Regions from separate parts of the Homo sapiens genome. Here region 1 is linked to region 2. The links are contacts of gene promoters, found by promoter capture Hi-C in blood cells and fetal thymus (Javierre and others, 2016). All regions are on one chromosome and are shown on one strand. The core of a region is centred on a gene start or on the middle of the fragment in contact, and the rest is flanking DNA. Distances in the headings are between cores, read along the strand shown.

Region 1 (3,644 bases), core at 1,111-3,610, 55 kb before region 2:
TTTGTATTTTTAGTAGAGATGGGATTTCTCCATGTTGGTCAGGCTGGTCTCGAACTCCTGACATCAGGTCATCCGCCCTCCTCGGCCTCCCAAAGTGCTGGGATTACAGGCTTGAGCCACAGTGCCTGGCCCTCACCCAGGTATTAAGCCTAGTACCCAATAGTTATTTTTTCTGCTCCTCTCCCTCCTTTCATTCTCCATCCTCAGGTAGGCCCTCCATGTGTCCATGTGTTCCCATCACTTAGCTCTCACTTTTAAGTGAGAGCATGCAGTATTTGGTTTTCTGTTCTTGAGTTAGTTCGCTAAGGATAATGGCCCTCAGCTCCATCCATGTTCCTGCAAAGGACATAGTCTTCTTTTTTAATGGTTTCATAGGATTCCATGATGTATACGTACCACATTTTCTTTATCTAGTCTACCACTGATGGACATATAGATTGATTCCATGTCTATGCTATTGAGAATAGTGCTGCAATGAATGTATGTGTGCATGCATCTTTATAATGGAATGATTTCTATTCCTTTGGATCTAGAGCCAGTAATGTGATTATGGGGTAGAATGGCAGTTCTGTTTTTACCTCTTTCAGGAATCGTCACACTGCTTTCCACAATGGTTGAACTAATTTACACTCCCATCAAGACACTGTAAGTGTTGCCTCTTCACTGCAACCTCACCAGCATCTGTTATTTTTTGACTTTTTAATAATAGTGATTTTGACTGGTGTGAGATGGTATCTATCTCATTGTGGTTTTGATTTGCATTTCTCTAATGATCACTGGTTAGTGATGGAAAGTTTGATTTGCATTTCTCTAATGATCACTAGTTAGTGACCATTAGACCCGCTCAGGGAGGGACGGGCCCACAAACGCTCCGAGGACAACGGCTCTGCAGCAGGGCCAAAGGTGCACTCACTCCGGGAGCAGTGGCACACAGGATGTATGGGCACACTCACAGTGGCAGGGAAGGGAAGGCAATGTCCTCTGGCACACACACTCACTGGCAAAGGGATGCTGGTATTAGTGTTTTTATAATTAGCATAAATAATAGGAGAGAGACATAAATAGGGGGTGGCTATGGGTGAGTGAGTGCAGGCAAAGTGGCCCGAGAGGCTGCAGTGCAGGGAGGGTGCTGGTGGGCTGGCCTGTGTCTGCACAGGCTACTCTGCTGGATCAGTCTGCTGGTCAGCCGGGGGTCCACCAGCACAGGAGCTATGATGTGGCCCCCAGGAGGTACCTGGCTGGGGGCCAAGCTGGGACCCAGGAGAGGCCAGCAAACTGAGTGGTGCTGAAGTTAGAATAGCCTCATGTAGTGGGTGAGACTGCCGTGCAGAATTCAGGTCCCATAGTTCCCATAGGGCTAAAGCTTCCTACGGGAGCAGGTCAAGCCTGGGGGGATGGGCATCCCTGGCCATGCTCCACTACAGACACTTTCACACTAAACCCTCTGGATTCCACACAGGCTGGAGTTCTGCCCCTACCACTTGTCTAAGCATCTCTCCCTGCCAGTTCAAGTGTTACTTGTGGTCCAGGGGTTTTCTCCTGCTGGGATTCGGAGGCTCATGGAAAGAGAGGGTTGCTCCTTGCCCATTCAACTCATGCTTTTGCAGGAGTCACTGGGGGCCAGGAATGCTTCCTGTGTGTGGTACCCCCATGCAGAATTCCTTTCCTTCTGAAGATTTGCTAGGAGTGCACCAATCTTCCTGATGTCCTGGTCCCTCGTGGGCGATGTTCCTCTTGACTGCGTCTAGTGGGACGTCTTGGAGTGGTATATTACATTTTCAATCAGCTGGATACATTTCCCTGGTGCCTTATAGACAACACAGAATGAAATAAATGTATAGATAGATTTTCTCAGCAGAATTAACATGTTTTAATATCCACAAAAAAAGTTAACCTAGGAACAGAGGGTTCCACATCTGAAAAAGAATCTCACCGTTCAATATGTCGAAGACATCAAGCATATCATGTTCGTGTGATTAAACACATGATATATTTTTTAAAGGTCTAGTTAATTTGGATCTGGATAAATTATTGGAATAGAAGTAAGGCAGACAAATCCACACTAAGTATTAGGGGCCTCAAATACACAGTTGGAAAATTTTTAACTTTTTCCTGAAAGTAATACTAGACAACTAAATGGTATTTAATTAACTCCCCTCATGAGGAGATGAAGAGGAGGATAAGTTTACTTAAAGTAGTTTTGAAAAATGAATCAGAATGATTGACAAACAGAAGCAGCCTTCTAGAAATTAAACTGATACTCAAGAGAAGACACATCCCAGGTTGAGTCTGACTATTCCTATATAAGAGCTGTTGCTGTTTGAAACAAGCAAGCGTATTGCAAAATTACAGTTCCCGAGAAAAGGAAGAGCTTAAAAAGTCTGTACAGACAGCTTCATGCAAATCCCTAAAGGTAAGCCATAATTGGGTTGACAGACTATTTTATTTAAGAATAGTTACAAGTTTGTGGATAGAAATGCAACTAATAAAACAGAAAAGCATGAAATTTTGAGACCTTTATCTGAAAATTAATTATTTAACATTTAAATCATGTATCTCTTCACTACAAAGTTAAATAAAATTAGATGTCCAATAATGGTAAAATTGCATTAGTGATGAAAAGTCATTTAAGGCAATTTTGAAAACTAGTACTAATAGAAATGTATAAATATGAGATAGTATTTGTCTGATCACTTTCATTTATCAACGTATTAAGTCAAATGCATTGGCTGACCGGGCTAAAATAGGTATAGGTGCAGCAGATTTGAAGACACAGAAAAAAAGAATTTGTTTAGAAAGTTGGAGAACAAACGTTAAGCAAGTGTAATGGGAATTGACAAGCAGTGATTTCCTCATATTGGATGACATTGACATGAAGTGAAGCAAGACAGTGTGTTTTTGTTTTGTTTTGTTTAATTTTTTGGTCCCATTTATATGCTCTGGCCACTTAGATGGCCAGAGTAAATGTTAGCTGGGTTTAATCAAAGAATTTTACTTTAATAAGGCAACAGGATGAAGGGAAAATAGAGAGAAGGAATTGTATTTGGTTGAAAGGAACTGTATTTGGTTATATGACAATGGAGAAATTCACTTAGATAAAAAAAAGAAATGTAAAAAAAATTGTGATGAATTTCTACATCTTGATTAAGTTATAATTTAATTACTATTTAGCATTCACTGTATTCAGGGCAATAACAGGGGAAGTCAATAAACTGCCTACTGGTATTAGTGTTTTTATATTTAGCATAAATAATAGGAGAGAGACATGAAGTAGAGCAACAATAATGCATGTATTTAGTCTCTCAGTAACCAAGAAATTGTTTAAGATAATTGATTCTCACTGGTGCATAAAAGGAAAAGTTTAAAATTCATTTTGAGTATGAATTAATCGTAATATTCAAGGGCAACATTTTGAATTAAAAAAACTGGAATATGACTACCAATACAAAGAAAAATGATATTCTCAGATGAAATAGTAAAAGCCTACACTATAACTCTACTCTTAAGTGTGAAATAATAAGATGTTATTCCTCCATAATATTTTCTAAACAACAATGCATGCTTCTCAATGCCTCTGGTTGCATTATATCCCAGTATAATAAAATATATTGAGGTTTCATTTCTTAAATTGATTTTAATGCTAA
Region 2 (3,409 bases), core at 575-3,074:
TGTGTTCAATGTGACGGATGTTGTACATCCATAAAATAATTGAAATGAGGGTAGTTGTCACTGTAGTTGGGGAAAAAGTACTCAGACAATGATTAATGAAAAAAAGCAGCATGTTAGATTATCTTATTTCTAAATGGGAGATGAAGGAGATTTTCAGAAGTGGAAGAAACAGGATGAACAATGAAAAGGACAAGAAAACCATTAAGTTGAAAATCTACTCAAGTTTCATTGGCTGTCTTATTTCATGATAACCATGAAGCATACTGTTAAATGAATTCTGATAAATTTCTAACATTGGTCAATTTGGTGATAAAGCTGAAAAATTAAAAATGGAGCCTTTGGTAAACTAGTTGCAGCATTCACTGGGGAAAATACAGAACTAGGAATCTAATTAATCATGTTTGAATAACATAAAGGAGTGAAGGCAGAGGCTTGAGAGATTTATGTCCCAACAGTCACCAGTAAAAATAAAATGTGATCTGCCTATTGTTCACATACCAGAGGTAAGGACAGAAAGACTTGCTCATCTCAGGTAGGTTTCTGAATGATCAATTTAAAGGACAGAGGAAAAATTTTGGAAAAATAAGAAATCATGTATTAAGGAATTTACAAATGAATGATTTTATAGATGCTTACTCAGTTGAAGCACCTCTGGAATCTAATGGCCAAACAATGATATTTTCTTATTGGATCTGTGTGAATTTGACTGACCTTACTTGTCATTGTAAGAGGATAATATAGATTTCACCCATTTATATTTTAATCAACCTTCATAAGTAAATCATTACTTTAAAAAATCACTGTACCTGTGATATTATTTTAGATGTAAATTTAAGATAGGTTCTAGATTTACTCAAATAATAATAGAGGTAACACATTACAGATATTAATTTATGAAAATTCAAGTTCTTAAGGTACATGCCATAATATTTAAGTCTAGAAGAAATAACAATCAGACCCACCCCACATTTCAATTTTCATATAACAGACACACACAGGCACACACACACACACAAGAGTAAGTGCACATATAACACAAGCAACAGAAGCCTATATATTTCAGAAACACTTATTGTTCTTCACATTTTGATTTTAATGAAAAAGTCAATTATAAGCAAATATAAGTAGTCTGTTGTTCACACTTCTTTTACCACTTACATTTGGCTTTTGTTTTTTAGAACCAGATAAGTCATCCAAATGGATTATAAATGCTGTGACAAACCAGTGATGATGAGTAACAGTTAAATAAAACATTTTTCTTTTCCAGTAAGCACTAACGACACCACATCAAAAACAGTACCATAATAATTTTCTCTTATTAACTTACATGTAATATCACTGTCAGTGGTAGAAAAATGTATATATTTCTTGAATAATGCAATAAATATGATCCTTTTTTGTCAAATATATGAGATGCTTAGTCCGGTATGTTCTGGCCCTTGTGACTCTAACTATGGTGTTTCTTTCACATCCTTTTGGATCTGTACTGAGCTTTCAGTTTAATCAAATTGACTGCCTTAGATTGTACAATAGAAGCAAAGACAAATGATATATGTCAGAAATTGCATGTAAGTTTAGATTCAAAGTTGATCAACTTCCTTTGGCAGACACTTTTAGGGTTTTTTTTTTTTAATACAGTAATAATGCCTCTTTGAAAGTGACACTCACCTGGGATACTTTTTGAGGGTAAAGAAGATAATTTACATAAACAAATCTTGTTCTACTTTACAGATAATTTTTTTTTTGATATCTTGGAAAGTCAAGTTCTAGACTGTCATTCTCGTAATGATTTCTGTAGCAGTTTGAAACAAGAACAAGGAAGAATGGACTGGGAAAATTGCTCCTCATTAACTGATTTTTTTCTCTTGGGAATTACCAATAACCCAGAGATGAAAGTGACCCTATTTGCTGTATTCTTGGCTGTTTATATCATTAATTTCTCAGCAAATCTTGGAATGATAGTTTTAATCAGAATGGATTACCAACTTCACACACCAATGTATTTCTTCCTCAGTCATCTGTCTTTCTGTGATCTCTGCTATTCTACTGCAACTGGGCCCAAGATGCTGGTAGATCTACTTGCCAAGAACAAGTCAATACCCTTCTATGGCTGTGCTCTGCAATTCTTGGTCTTCTGTATCTTTGCAGATTCTGAGTGTCTACTGCTGTCAGTGATGGCCTTTGATCGGTACAAGGCCATCATCAACCCCCTGCTCTATACAGTCAACATGTCTAGCAGAGTGTGCTATCTACTCTTGACTGGGGTTTATCTGGTGGGAATAGCAGATGCTTTGATACATATGACACTGGCCTTCCGCCTATGCTTCTGTGGGTCTAATGAGATTAATCATTTCTTCTGTGATATCCCTCCTCTCTTATTACTCTCTCGCTCAGATACACAGGTCAATGAGTTAGTGTTATTCACCGTCTTTGGTTTTATTGAACTGAGTACCATTTCAGGAGTTTTCATTTCTTATTGTTATATCATCCTATCAGTCTTGGAGATACACTCTGCTGAGGGGAGGTTCAAAGCTCTCTCTACATGCACTTCCCACTTATCTGCGGTTGCAATTTTCCAGGGAACTCTGCTCTTTATGTATTTCCGGCCAAGTTCTTCCTATTCTCTAGATCAAGATAAAATGACCTCATTGTTTTACACCCTTGTGGTTCCCATGTTGAACCCCCTGATTTATAGCCTGAGGAACAAGGATGTGAAAGAGGCCCTGAAAAAACTGAAAAATAAAATTTTATTTTAAGGAAATAGTAAAAATACATGTTTATACACACAAAAATGCATATTCATACTGGTGTTTTCTTCAAATTATATATTATAACATAAAGTTGTCTCAAATACCCTAATTTAATATAATACATATTTTACTCAGCCACAATCTAGCAATTCTCTGGAATTGTCTAAATATGCTATTTTTTTAATGTGTTTTCAATTTAGGTAAGGTAATTTCTCTATATTTGAAAAATGCTCCAGTCTTTGAGTTAGTGGGGCAAATTTTTATTTGTTTAATATATATTTCAGAGTAATTTTTCTTTTTTTCTTTTCTTTTTTTTTTTGTGATGGAATCTGACCCTATTGCCCAGGTTGGAGTGTAGTGGTGCAATCTCGGCTCACTGCAACCTCCGCCTCCCTGGTTCAAGTGATTCTCATGCTTCAGCCTCCCGAGTAGCTGGGATTACAGGTGCCTGCCACCAGGCCCGGCTAATTTTTGTGTTTTCAGTAGAGATGGGGTTCCAACATTTTGACCAGGCTGGTCTCGAACTCCTGACCTCAGGCGATCCACCCATCTTGGCCCCACAAAGTGGTGGGATTACGGGCGTGACAGGCAGTAATTTTTCTAAGACTTATTGAGTGTTTAGTACATGCCTTTCACATTGCTGTGTACTTTGCATTTCA

Evidence for each region. Contacts are between HindIII fragments. The CHiCAGO score rates a contact against its expected background, and 5 or more counts as called.
Region 1: the fragment with the promoter of OR10AG1 here is called in contact with the fragment with the promoter of OR5W2 in region 2 in 1 of 17 cell types (neutrophils); the score reaches 5.5 in neutrophils.

The regions. Positions count from the first base shown.
Region 1 is chr11:55,968,661-55,972,304 of GRCh38, reverse strand. OR10AG1 (olfactory receptor family 10 subfamily AG member 1) reads left to right here and starts at 2,360. Exons shown (of 2, transcript NM_001005491.2): 1 at 2,360-2,413. The coding sequence starts at 2,398. The HindIII fragment of the contact is 3,009 bases long and covers 1,366-3,644 here.
Region 2 is chr11:55,912,997-55,916,405 of GRCh38, reverse strand. OR5W2 (olfactory receptor family 5 subfamily W member 2) reads left to right here and starts at 1,824. Exons shown (of 1, transcript NM_001001960.1): 1 at 1,824-2,756. The coding sequence starts at 1,824. The coding sequence ends at 2,756. The HindIII fragment of the contact is 7,753 bases long and covers 1-3,409 here.